Regions from separate parts of the Homo sapiens genome. Here region 1 is linked to region 2. Evidence: promoter capture Hi-C in 16 types of primary human blood cells and fetal thymus (Javierre and others, 2016). All regions are on one chromosome and are shown on one strand. Each heading gives the region's core, a stretch centred on a gene start or on the middle of the fragment in contact. The rest is flanking DNA. Distances are from core to core; before and after follow the strand shown. Region 1 overlaps COPB2-DT (COPB2 divergent transcript). Region 2 holds the start of RBP1 (retinol binding protein 1).

Region 1 (6,929 bases), core at 2,399-4,898, 110 kb before region 2:
CGTAGCGCCTGGCCTCCACTAATGTATTTTTTTTTTTTTTTTGGTTTTTGTTGTTCCAGGATACTATTCAACATACCACATTGTATTTGATTGTCATTTCTCCCTGTTCTCTGACAGTCTCCAATTGTTCCTGGGTCTTTCTTTGTCTTTTGTATGATCTTGACACCTCCAGAGATCAGTTATTTTATTGTATGTTCCTTATTATGAACCTGCCTAGGGCATTCTCCTGATTGGACTGAACTCTTGCACGAAGAAGCTTTCTGAAAGCTTCCAACTTCTGAAATTCAGAAAGAATTCCTAGAGAAAGGAGGGGTGGGGAAGGAAAGTCAAGCTACTGCTGGTCCTGAAGAGGAGTCTTCTCCTTTTGAGTTTTTAGATATATCCCTGGGGAAAAGACCACAGAAGCACCAAATAGATTTGTGGAGCCCAAGAGCTAAAGGCCCATGTGCCTTTTTCCTGCATAAAGGCCCAGGAGGGCTAGAATTACCCAGAGAGGGATGGAAGTGGCTGTGAGGGGTGTATGAGGGAGTAGAGAAGGCACCATATGTGGCACGGCAGGGCATGGCAGAGTAATTTTTTGTGTGCCAGGGACTGGGCACAGAAGCCACTAAGAAAGCTTGAGAGCTGGGAACAAGGAACATCTCCACAGTGAACTCCCTAACAGATAGCTCAGGGGATCTCTCAGCTAGTGTGGACAGGAAACATCAAGGACATTACATAAGCTCCCCCTCATTCCGCCCCAGAATCTAGATGTAATCAAGAGGACAGAGAGATGCTCCAAATTTGCTTCCCACCTACCAGAATAGGGACTCTGCTCTGTATTAACCTATAAATAAAGTATGTTGCTTGTGCTCTTGAGCTATCATCTGGGATTCATACCTCCTAATAAATGCCACTGAATATTATGAATAAAGGTATATGTGCACAGGAGTGTGTGCATGAGTATGAGTGTGTATGTTTGTTCCAAGCAGAGATAGCAGCATTTTCCAAGGTCTGGAGATAAAATGAGAATGTGCATGTGGAGAACTACAAACCATTCATGGGAAAGTACACAAATGGGCTGTTTTTTCAGGTCGGGTTCCCAATGATACCGTCTTTTTTCTATTACACAGTGACGTGTGTAAGGCACCAAATCATGATGCTAGGAAAAACATCTTGATATGTAATGCCATACCCACCATCTAGGTAATGGTACTGCATATCTTTGGTCCTTCCGCATGTGCCAGAGGGTGTGCTGCCATTAACCATGAAAGGAACCCTTCAGCATGTTTATGAGTGTGGATGAGAGGTATTGCCCCTTTTTCCTCCAGATGGTGAGCAGGTTGAAATGACAGCTCAGCCACTCCACCACTAATAAAACTTCCTGACACTCTGTAGTCCTTTATGGACTATGACTCAGTTCAAATTGCTAGACTTACGGAATGTAGAATTTTAGGCCAAAGAGGTTCTGAGTGGGGCCAATTGCCTAAAGGTACAGATGGTGAGACTGAGGTGTAAAGAGGCAACGATGCCTTGCCTAAGTGTCCTCAGCAGGCCTGTGACTGAGTCTCTGGGGCTCCAGGTCCCCAGCCCAGTGTTTTCTGGCTACTTCACCGTGTTTCATGGCTCTCTGGAGTAGCCTCCTTTCAGGAAAGCACTACCTGCCCCTTTCGCTCACTCAACTTTCAAAACCCAGCTCAAATACCCGCTGAATTGACCTTCCCCATGGTAATTCTTATTTATTTGGCAATTAAATAAGTGTTGTCTAATGCCCTATCTTCTAAGGTTATTCTGTCACCTTAAATATTTTTTTTTCAAAAAAGACTTAAATTTTAAAGTCTTTATTATCTTTATTATCTTATTCAATAAAACTATTAAATTTTTGAGGATAGGCATCATAATTTGTGTGTGTGTGTGTGTGTGTGTGTGTTCCCTCAACAGTACCAAGCACAGTGTCTTTTACTAGTAGGTTGCCTCTAGCAGGTAAATAATAAATATTAGTTGATTTGATACTGCTAGCACAAGTTCATTGCCGTGTGAAATGTGATGCAGAGGCAGTATAAAGTTAATAACATGGACTCAGGAATCAGCAGGCCTGGTTTTGACAAGTTGTGTGACTTTGGAAAAGTTGCTCAAGTTCTGAGCCTCAGTTTTCTCATCAGTGATGTGGGTTAATGACACTAATCTCTTACAGGATTGACAAGAGGATCACATGGGATTATATATACACATTTATATGTATATATAGCTATCTGTATATTACTAGATATAGTTATTATTATAGTAATATAGTAATAATTACTGTATTATATATTATAGTAATAACTATAACTATGTATAGTAATATATAGATATAGCATATGAAACCCACACATATATATGGCCACAGCTATAATCCTTCAGTTGATGGCAGCTATTACTACTATTAACGTCATGAGTTGGAAATCAGGCCAATTAACTCCATCCATTGAGTTCTATAGGCTCAAACTAAATCTTCAACAAATATAGTCATCTCAACACCTGCAGAAGGGTTAGAGAGTCCAGGCAAAATCATGTGGGTAGGCACCCATGCAAATTCTCACCCACTGTTATTCCACCATACTCCCACACTCATAAAACAGTAGCATATAACACGGGTGCCACGTACCATGGTGATGTGTATTTGATACACAAAAATTATGTGAATTATGCATGTGTGTACATATGTGTATGTGCACACATTTGCAGGATAGTACTCTCCAAAAACAAAAACAAAAACAAACAAAACAAAACTCTTCCACCCCAGCCAACTCAAACAAGTAGTCCTCTTGCCCAATAGTTGTTAGCCATATTCTCTCCTTGCATAAATATAACCACTAGGAGGCGCCTTAATCCTTCTCTTTAGCAGCCTTTCTGCTCGTTAACACCAGGGAGTCAGATCTGAAAGTCTTTAAGTGAATCTTTCTCAACCCACTGCAGAGTGTGCAAATCATTTCCTCAGCTGATTCAGATGTATTTTGATGTGCTGGGAAACCTGAACATTCTCTCACGCTGTGGAGATTAATTACCTTGAAATATTCATTGGATTAAATGTATTTAAACATGTACTGTTTAAAGCTCAGTGCTGCAAAATGCCATCCTCAAGATATATATTACGGGCATTAAATAATTAACTTTAGTGTGTGAGAGGAGAGGGGGAGGGAGAGGAAGAGGGAAGGTGGGGGGAGAGGAGAGAGAGAGAGAGAGAGAGAGAGAGAGAGAGAGAGAGAGAGAGAGAGGGAGAGAGAAACACATGCTTATTTAGTGCTAGGCCAGTGGTGAGACTGAGAGCAACCAAATCTAAAGCTTTCCATAAATCAGCTAAATCCTGGCTTCACCTGTTACTAGAACTATGTGACCTTGGGCAAAATACTTCATCTCTCTAAGCCTCCTCTGTAAAATGAGAATGACAGTATCTCAGAAGCATGAATTTTAGATACTAATACAGGGAAAGCACTGGGTATCCTGCTTAAGACATAGTAGCACTCACACAAAGCAAGACTCGGCTTCCTCTTCCTCTTCCTCTTCTTCTTCTCTCCTTTAGACCTAGATACGAGGACTTGATCTTGGCTTTGCCATTCTCCTTCCTTCTCTGTGCCAAAGTGTTGTCGCTCAGCTCTGGGAACAGCAGCAGTCCATGCGTGTGAGGTGTACTGTCTCTAGAGACAAACTACCCAGGCCCATGGCCCAACTCCATCCAGCACGTACCAGCTGTGCGACCCTCAGCGCCTCAGCTCCTTTATCTGCAAAAGGGGATAATAACAGTACCTTGCCCCACAGGGCTGCCGTGAGGGTCTAAGGAGTTACCATACATATAAATTCATGAGAACAGTACCTGCCACATAACCAGTGCTTTCCAGGGGTTGGCTATTATTATTTTAGGTTCAATTCAGTTTTCATGTGTATTCAACTCCTCAAACTGTATTTCTCCTCGTGCACCATCCTACTTGTCTCAGTGTCACGCTTAGTTCTTAAATCTTTCAGCAGCTGTATGCTCTAAGCTTTAGCCTCCCCTCTTTCACTTACCCAAATTTACCTCTTCTTAGGATCCTGGTTTATGGCCTCTGTAGGAATTGAAGCAAACCAACTCATCTTAACATTGTACTAAGAGGCTACAGCTGAATATAAGCTCTAGTGGGGCAGAGGTGCTGTCTGCCTTATCCACTACCTATCCCTAGTACCTAGTAGGTCCCTGAACATAGAAAGTGCTCAATAAATACATTACGTGACTCTCTGGACTTTCAGAAACACAAAATATTCGTTGAAAGTAATGGATTACCTGAGGTCAGGAGTTCGAGACCAGCCTAGCCAACATAATGAAACCCTGTCTCTACTAAAAATACAAAAATTAGCCGGGCGTAGTGGCAGACGCCTGTAATACTAGCTACTCAGGGGGCTGAGGCAGGAGAATTGCTTGAACCTGGGAGGCGGAGGTTGCAGTGAGCGGAGATCACGCCATTGCACTCCAGTCTGGGAGGCAGAGTGAGACTCTGTCTCCAAAAAAAAAAAAAAAGAAAAAGAAAGTAATGTGTTTTGAATGGTGGGATTTCAGGCGTCTTGACAGGCTGCTGGAGGGGAAAACATTGAAGGTAGGGGACTTTCATCTGTGTCCTTCAGACCACAGTGGCTAGGAGACCTTCAACTTTACTTACACATGTGGCTATTTTTTTTTTAACTTTTTCTTTTGAAACAAATTTTGACTTACAGAAAAGGTGCAAAAAATGTACAGTGAGTACTCATATATGCATTGCTTGGCTTCCCTAAATGTTAAAGGAACATCTTAAATAACCATAATACAGTGATCAAAACCATGAAATTAACATGGGTACTATTAGTGATGTTATGAGTGTTATTAATTACTATTAATCAAGCAACAGGCCTAATGTGAATTTCACCAGTTCTTTCATTGATTGGATCTCACATCGCATTCAGTTGCCATGTCTCCTTGGTCTCCTCTAATCTGTGACATTTCCTCAGTCTTTCCAGTCTTTCCTTGTCTTTTGTGACCCTGCCACTTTTAAATAAGGCAAGTCAGTTATATTGCAGAATAACTGTCAATCGGGGTTTGCTTGATGTTTTCTCACTATTGAATTGAGGTTATGCATTTTTGGCAGGCATACAACGGTGATATGACCTCAGTCTATGGATCAGGGAGTACATGATGTCAATAAGTCTTATTACTGGTGATAATTAACCTTGATCATTTGGTGAAGGCAGTATCTGCTGGCTTTCTTCACTGTAAAATTACCATTTTTCTCTTCATAATTAGTGAATATCTTGAAGGACGTATTTGACACTATGCAACTATTTTGTTTCTCCTCAAAATTTCTTATACTAATTTGAGCAGCCATTGGTAGATTTTTGCCTGTAATAATTATTACTGTGGTGTTTGCCTAATGGTGACTTTTAAAAATATTTTCCCATTTCATCTACATTTATTAATTGGAATTCTTCTGTAAGTAAGAACTATCCCTTCTTCCCAATTTATTTTTGGAATTTTTATTTTTATATCAGTAAGGAATCGTGGATATTTATTTTATGAATTATAATGCAATACTTTTCTTGTTTACTTATTTCTCAATTCATTCCGGTTTTGGCCAATGGGGTTGCCTTCAATTTTACTGTTGTGTTCTCTCATGGGCTCCTATCCTTTTTTGAGCCCTTCCCTAAGGCTGTATTTGCTAACCATGTACATCACCTGGGCCTGTCCCCCATTATGCATGGTGGGTTGGTGGGGAAGTCCAAGGAGGCAGACAACTGGTAGGCAGTGGTTGGGCTTTGAAGCCAGGTCTCCTGAATGCTTGTCCTGCTCTCTGCCAAGGCACCATTCTGCCTCTCCACACATCACAACTTTTATTTACCATGAAATTCACATAATTCCTCCCTGCTCTGCTTCCCTGGGCTCAGCCAGTCACTGACAGGCTAGGAGGCTAGGAAACAATGAGACACATCCAGAATATGGACTATTTACAAGAAAATAGCCCTGTACTGTTTAAAAAGTCAATGTCATAAAAACATAAAACAAAAGTAGTGAGGATGTTGTCAATTAAAAGAGGCTAAAGAGACATAACAATATCAATCTCTTGCAGTTGCTATGGGCTCAATTATGTCCCTCTTCAAAATTCATGTTTAAGTCCTAACCCCCAGTAGCTCAGAGTGTGAGCTTCTTCAGAAATAGAGTCATTGCAAATGTTATTAGTTAAGATGAGGTTGTAATGAGGTAGGGTGGACCCCTAATCTACTATGACTGGTGTCCTTATACAGATTGACAAAGTGTCAATCTCTGATGGGATCCTGCTTCTTTTCAAAAAGTCATTTTAGAGACAATCAAGGATATTTGAATTTAAACTGGATATTATAAACTAGGAATTATTAATTTTCTTAAGTATTACTTTATTATTAGTAGTATTATTATTGTAGTAGTATTTAATAATTAGTATTATTAAAGTATTTAGTATGACTAAAGTATGTAAGTATTGCCCTTTCTTAGGTATTACCATTCTGTAGGAGAATATCCTTGCTTTTAGGAGATACGTGTTTAAGTGTTTAGGGGTGAGGTGTACTGATGTCTGCAACTTATTCTCAAATAATTCTGAAAAATGTGTAGTCTACTGAGTACAGTAAATGTGGCAAAATGTTAACAGTTATTAAATCTAGATGTATGATATAAGTGTTCCTCTTTCAGCATTCTGTATCTTTGAAATTTTTTAAAATGAAAAGCCTGAGGAAAAATTATTCCTATAATCTTATTTTATATCCTCTATTTATTGAGGAAAACCTCCCTTCTTTTATTTCCATAAAAATGACAAAGGCCAGTTCCATCCAACTGAAATGGTCACACAACCCAGAGTTCAGGAACTCACAGGAGCAGTATAATGGGTATTAAGCCTGGATCTGTAGAAGATGGTCAGGTGTGGACAGTAGGGCTCCAG
Region 2 (6,664 bases), core at 4,119-6,618:
GCAGAGCCGCCCAGATCTGAGTCCCTCCACCCCTCCACCTGGGGAGAGAACACAGAGCTGTTTCAGGTGGTTCTGGGCATGGACTGCAATGTCCATAGGACTCAGGTGATGGGCCAAACTGGCCCTCTACATGCCCATGGCCCTGTACACCTAATTTTACAGTTTTCCATTTTTTTATAGAGACACAGGAACAGAGTATGTTTCTTTACTCCAGAGCAGTGATTCTTAAGCTTTAGTTGCATCAGAACCACCTGGAGGGCTTATTGAACCACAGATAGCTGGCCCCACTCCCAGAGTTTCTGATTCAGTAGGCCAGGGGTGTGGCCAGATAATCTGTATTTCTAAGAGGTTCCCTGTGATGCTGCTGCTGCTGCTGCTGCCTCTGCTTTGGGATCCACAGCTCTAAAGGAACCCACAGTGCAAACAGCGACAAATGGCCATTTGATCCTTGACTTCAGGTAACAGGATGGGCTGAAGACTGTGGTAAACTAGGAAATGTAACATCTAAAGGGAGCAGCTGCAACATATTCCAGGGATCCACGCAGTGCAGGAATAAACAGGTGCCCAGTGTTTCCAGGGCCTTTCCTTTTCTTGTTGTTTTTGTTAAGAACAGCCAGAAATACGGATTTTCTGTGAAATCTTACAATCTTTGGCAATTATTGGCAACTGACTCTGAAGCTTTTCAAACATTGTACAGGCCAAACAAAACACATCTGCAGGCTGGGTTTCACCCTCTGGCTGCAGTTCTAGAATACAGATAAGGTTCCCATGGAAAAGAGGCAGGATCAGAGATCTCTCAGCCAGTGAGAGCCTCTGCCCTTTGGGGAGGGATGTCAGCCTGGCCACACCTCTCCCAGCAAGGACTCACAGAGGCCTGTCAGGGTCACATCAAGTCTCCCTGCCAGGTTCTCCTGGCTCTCTTCTCTCCCAGCCACATCTTGCACTCCAGGCATGCTGAAGTCTTCGCAGACTGCTCCTCTCTCACCTCTGAAACTCCCTCCCAGCCAGGCTTTTCTGACCCTGGGCCTTTGTACATGTGGTTCCCGCTTACTGGAAAGCTCTTATCCTTTTCTCCACATCTGCCCTAATTAGTCCTTTAAGGCCCCTCTCAGCTGTCGCCTCCTCTGGGACTTTCCCTGACCACTGCTTTCCTACTCCCAGCTGTATGCTCCCCAGCCCACCGTGCTCCCATCATGCATTGAGCTGTAATGGCCTGAAGATGTGCCTGTCTCCTCCACTGGCCTGGGTGTCCAGAAGGCCTTGTTGCCTCTGCGACCCCAGGGCCAAGCCCAGGGCTTGGTGTGGGACAGCTTTCGGCCGTGGCCTTTCTTTCAACCCCTTTCTGTTTGCCTGGCTACTTCCTGTCTATCCTATAAGCCACAGTTCAGACTCCAATTCCTGTGGGAGCGTTCCCTGACCTCTCAGACCGAGCAGGGAGTGCTTCTCTGCCTGTATCAGCACAGTGTCCACTACGTCGTGATTGGCTGCTTCAATTTGCCTCCTCCTTACACTGAACTCCATGAGGGCAGGAATCGTGTGTGATTTGTCTCATTGACACAGGGGTTGCAAAGATAGTGGAAGCACCATGAGATGCTTGTGGTGTCCAGAGAGGAATGAAAAAAATAGACGAATGACCGATCCCAAGTGAGAATGGGACTCCTGTAATATGCTGGGAACAAACTCCTCTGGGCCACTGCTCCTGGCTGATGGGTGCCCAGTGTGTGAGGCAGAGGGGGTAGCAGTGAAAGTGATCTTTGGCAACCACCTTGTCCAGGACCCCTGGCGGCCCTCAGAGAGCCCAGCTGGTGGCCTCTGGGTACCCAGCTCCCCTCCATTCACAAGTCTCAGGCCTGACAGCTGCTCTAATTCTATCATCCTACCCCCATCCAGCCATGTCCTTCCGGCAGTCCAAAGCAGCATACCACCCAGCGGCCAGCCCAGAGAGAAGGGCTTTTCTGTACTGCATGGGGCTAGGCGAAGGCTTGAGCAGAGCAGACAGGCTGTTCCATCTCCCAACAGGCCACAACAGGTGAGCGAATGGCTATCTACTTGAGAGTGGGCATCCCTGAGTCCTGGGGCAGTGATAGTAACCATGCATCCTAGACCAGTTTCACTGGATTCGTCCAGTGGCTGAATCTGCACGGTCTGCTCGACTACTGCTTGATGCTCGATTGACGCTGATGCTGTAGTGAGAAGAAAAGGTGGCCCTTGTCCTTTCCTTTGTATCCAAAACCCTCCCTTCTACCTCCCTGCTTTATTTTACAATGAAGCACAGAAGTCACCTCTTTCAGAAATTCTTCTGGGATCCCCTTCTCTGGGTAGTCCCCATCCCCTCACTCCCACCCTGTGCTTTTCTTTGCCACACTGTGTTGCGAGTGTTGGTGTGCCTGCCTCCACTGCAAAGACTTTGCTTTCCTGGACATCAGGGCCTGTGACATGCTCTGCTGTCCTGTGCCTGCCGTGGTGACCAGCCCGTGAGGGAAGCAGTATGTTCAGGGCAGTGGTTAACTAAAATCCTCCCTCTGCACTTCCCCAAGGTCACACAGCAAGAAATCCTGCAGTGGTTTTCTTATCTGTAAAATGAGGCTTGAAAGGGTGTTGTGAAGATTAAGTCAGCTAATGTAACGTTTGAATAGCATCTGGCATGACAGTAAGCACTTGATGAGTACTGCATTTGCTAGTATTACTAGGTGATCAATAAATGTTTCATGTGTTAATGGATGAAGAAAGGAAGGAAAGAGTGAAGATAATTAGTACAAGCCAGCACATGCCAGATTTGTGGTGACCCAAAATAAAGGTTCGATGTGATCTGTGAGTTCCACAATAGTGAGTGGGGGTAAGGATTATTCTTAAGGAGCAAAGTTCCATGCAGTGTGCCGGGGAGCAGGTCTTGGGCAGTAATGAGAAAGGCAGATGCCATCTGAAGGTCTCCTTTCCTATTGTGAGTCTTTCCTGCAGATTAAGAGTCCTTGAGATTTTTAAAGGCACAACCTGACATTTCTCTGCAACAATGGTGTTTTCTCCCATTAGTGGTCCTTCCAAGGCCACTCCCTGCTGACTACCCCCTCTTTCCCATCATTCCAAACAGCAGACTCAGATACCAATCCTGACTGCCTTCAGATGAATAGACAAGGTGGGGGGATGAGTCATCCAGGCTCCAGATGCCTATTCCCAGACATGGGCATCCCTTCAACTACAATCCTAACAGACCTCAGCTATCTTGTTTCTGCACAGACTACCAGCAGAGAAGCTGGCAGAAAGCAGGACTGTGGGCTTCAACATCAGAAGGCCCAGGGCTCAAGTCTCATCTCTTACAAGTCTCTTCCTCTGTCTGAGCCTCAGTCACTGCATAACATGGGGTTACTTATCCCTCCCTCACTGTGCTGTGCTGTAAGATGACTAGCACAGTGCTGGACACACAGCAGACCAGCGGTAAAGACCCTTGGTAAATGGTGGGAGGTGGTGGGTGAGGACCCCATCAATAAGCAAGGTGGCTCCTGGGATGAACATAAGCCACTTCTGAACCCAAGACTATAAAGGGAGAACAAGAGTACCTTGACCTCCCAGCAACCAGATAATGTTGATGGAGGCCTGGGGCTGGCCTTCCGGCATCTGCTGTGGCAGTACTAATTGGGATGTCCTGGGTCAGGAGTTTCCCACCCTTGTGGAAGGGAGCTCTTGGCCCTCCCTCTTCCCCCACTGCTGTTTCCTCTGGTCTGGGCTGGAGGGGCCCTGACTTACTGAATAGGTGTCAGCTGCAAAGTTCAAAGAATGCTCAGTAGGCATTGGATGACAGGGTGGGGCAGGGGATGGCCAGGAGCCAAATCCCAGCTCTGGGGCAAGGATGGGCAGATCAGGGGGCTTCCAGCAGAGATCAAGGGGCCCCCAGCTTCCTGGAGTGACTTCACACTAAGTCATACTGAAAGTTTACACTTCAAAGGGGTTACCTGTGTTTCTTTTTTCTTTCCTCCTTTCTTTTCTTTTACCCTCCACCAGCCCAGTCAGCCAGAGAACGGCATCAACAGACATGCTTTGAACTCCAGACCCTCCCTAGCTGTGCTACTCTGGACATGTTACTTCATCTCTTTGAGACTGTTTCTTCATCTGTAAAATGGGCATATTCATATCTCCCTCAAAGGCTGTGTGAGGCTTAGGTGAAGTCATGTGCATAAAGCACCGGGCAGAGTGCCTGAACGCAGTGGAGACACAGCACATGGCAGCCTTCATAACCATCACCTTCCAGTGTAGATAGAGCAGGATGCTTCATGAGTTGGTGCTGCCCACCATGGGGGCTGAGAGTGGGAAGAGTTTTCAGTCCCTCAGGCCCTTGCCCCCTCTCGGATGAACTAGCCCAGCCCTTGGTCAGGCCCCCTGGGCAGGAGACACCAGGTGGACGCGAATCCTCACCATGCACTTGCGGTCATCTATGCCTGTCAGATCCTCCTCAAACTCCTTCCCAACCTGGAAGTCCATGATGTAGTTCCTAAAAGTGCTCAGCGTGCGGATGATCATATGGTCACCGTCCTGCACGATCTCTTTGTCTGGCTTCAGCAAGTTGGCGATTTTGCGCAAGGCCACATTGACGTCTGCGGTGGGGGTTGAACGGGGAGAGAGAGAGCGCCAGAGAGTTGGCAGGGAAACTCAGAGAACCGTTCCCAAGGTAGCGGGGCCCCAGGAGCCCTCTCCGCCCGCGAACACTGTTAGGGTTCCCGCTGGCTTTGCGTTGTCTCTGCGCACAGCCTGCCTGTGCCTCCCCTGCCGCCCCCAACAAAGTTTTCTGCTCTTATGTTAACCGTTTAAAAACAAAAAGTAGCAAACCAAGCCCCAGATTTACTAATGAAATTACCCACCTCCAGGGCCAACGAGCAGACATTTGCCACCGGTTAACCTAACAACCCCGAATTCTCCAATCTGCAGCCTGGGGGCTGCCCTGGGAGCGGTGGCCGAGGACGCCCTTTCTGGCGTCCGGGGGCACCGGACCGCGGCTCGCCGGGATGGAGGCAGGCAGGCAGCGTCTCGGGAGGGCTCTAGGGAGCGGCCCGGAGCTGCTCGGCGGGGCGCCCAGGGCGCAGCGGGCAGCGCTTACCGAGGGCGCGCAGGTACTCCTCGAAATTCTCGTTGACCAACATCTTCCAGTACCCAGTGAAGTCGACTGGCATTTCGGGGAGTGACTGGAGCCAGTTGGCCACAAGCGGGCGGGACGGCTGGAGACTGCCGGGACAGCGGCTGCCGGTGCTACGCGGGTGGTGGGCGGCCCGGAAATGAGCGCCCTCCGGGGACAGGGGGCTCTGCGGGGCGGCGACAGCTGGATTCCCAGCGCGCACAAAGCCTGCGGGAGGATCCATTGTAGCGGTCGCTCCTCCCCGCTTAGCGAGGGCGGGCGCAGGGGCGGGGGATGTCGAAGGGTCAGGTTTGTCCAGGCCGCGCCACCTTCGTTTCAGACGTTCAGTTCGTTTCCCCTACAAAGGAAGAGGAGACCGGAGACGGGACGTTTGCTTTGTTGGCCGAACTCTTCGGCTGCTGGGGATTTCCTTCAAACGCCATTAACTTCTCACACTCAGCAGCCACTCGGGAGTTGGGAAACAATCTCCTGGGGTTTGTGCTGGCGTGATTAAGGAAAGAGGCCACTTACAGGCCTTTGTCTAAAGCCTCGCGCCGGTGGTGGCTGGGGTCAGGAAAGCTGGGAGGTTCAACTACGGGCGAGAAAATTGGGGCACTTTCCACGTCTCTCCCGAAAATAAAAGAAAGGATGCCGGGCACGGCGGCTCACGCCTGTAATCCCAGCACTTTGGGAGGCCGAGGCGGGCGGATCACCTGAGGTCAGGAATTCGACACCAGCCTGGGCAACACGGTAAAACCTCGTCTCTACTAAAAATACAAAAAATTAGCCGGGCGTGGTCGCGGGCGCCTGTAGTCCCAACTACTCGGGAGGCTGAGGCAGGAGAATAGCTTGAACCCGGGAGGAGGAGGTTGTAGTGAGCCGAGATCGTGCCACTACACTCCAGCCTGGGCGACAGAGTGAGACTCTGGCTCAATAAATAAATAAATAAATAAGTAAAATAGTTGATGTTATTTGAAGTGCATGTGGCTAAAAAAGCCTTCTGGGTGATTCTGATGCACAATCAACTTTGAGATCCACTGCTGCTTTATGCAAATGTAAGCAATATACTGTTTATTAATGTTTCCTCCCGTTTCACCTAATGGCAGCACTGTACTCCACGGTGTTCTGGACTTTGCTTTATTCACTTAATATATTCTGGAGACTTTTCCATAGCTGTACATAGAAAGTATCCCCATTATTTTACGGAGTATTCCATTGCTTATCCAGCTTGTCCCCTGATGGACAAACTATATTGTTTCTGATCTTTCACTATTAAAAGCAGTACTGCAATGAAAATCTTTGATCACATCTCCTTTGTCACCTGCGTGGGTATGTCATTGTGGTTTAACTGCATTTGCCACCAAGTAGATGACATAATCACATGGGCTGACTTTTTGACCCTCTTTTTGACTACCTCTTTTAAATCGCTTTTTGCACAAATCACAGCCTAAGTGACAGCAGATAACATTTTCTTCCCCTCTAGCACCACCTTCCCCAGGGTGCCTCCCTGGGGCTCACATGTGTTCTCACAGTGCAGGCTGAATTAGGAAAAGGAGCCTCTTC

The links. The method cuts DNA at HindIII sites, captures the fragments that hold promoters and counts their contacts. A CHiCAGO score of 5 or more calls a contact.
Region 1: a contact is called between a fragment that was not itself captured here and the fragment with the promoter of RBP1 in region 2, in 1 of 17 cell types (M2 macrophages). The highest score is 6.0, in M2 macrophages.

The regions. Positions count from the first base shown.
Region 1 is chr3:139,424,898-139,431,826 of GRCh38, forward strand. All of the region lies in intron 3 of COPB2-DT (COPB2 divergent transcript), which reads left to right. Among named protein-coding and RNA genes, the nearest start is that of COPB2-DT, 39 kb to the left of the region's middle. The HindIII fragment of the contact is 695 bases long and covers 3,302-3,996 here.
Region 2 is chr3:139,534,374-139,541,037 of GRCh38, forward strand. RBP1 (retinol binding protein 1) reads right to left here and starts at 5,369. Exons shown (of 4, transcript NM_002899.5): 1 at 5,087-5,369; 2 at 4,408-4,586. The coding sequence starts at 5,345. All of the region lies in intron 3 of COPB2-DT (COPB2 divergent transcript), which reads left to right. RefSeq lists enhancers at 1-105, 752-1,399, 3,245-4,444. The HindIII fragment of the contact is 6,847 bases long and covers 677-6,664 here.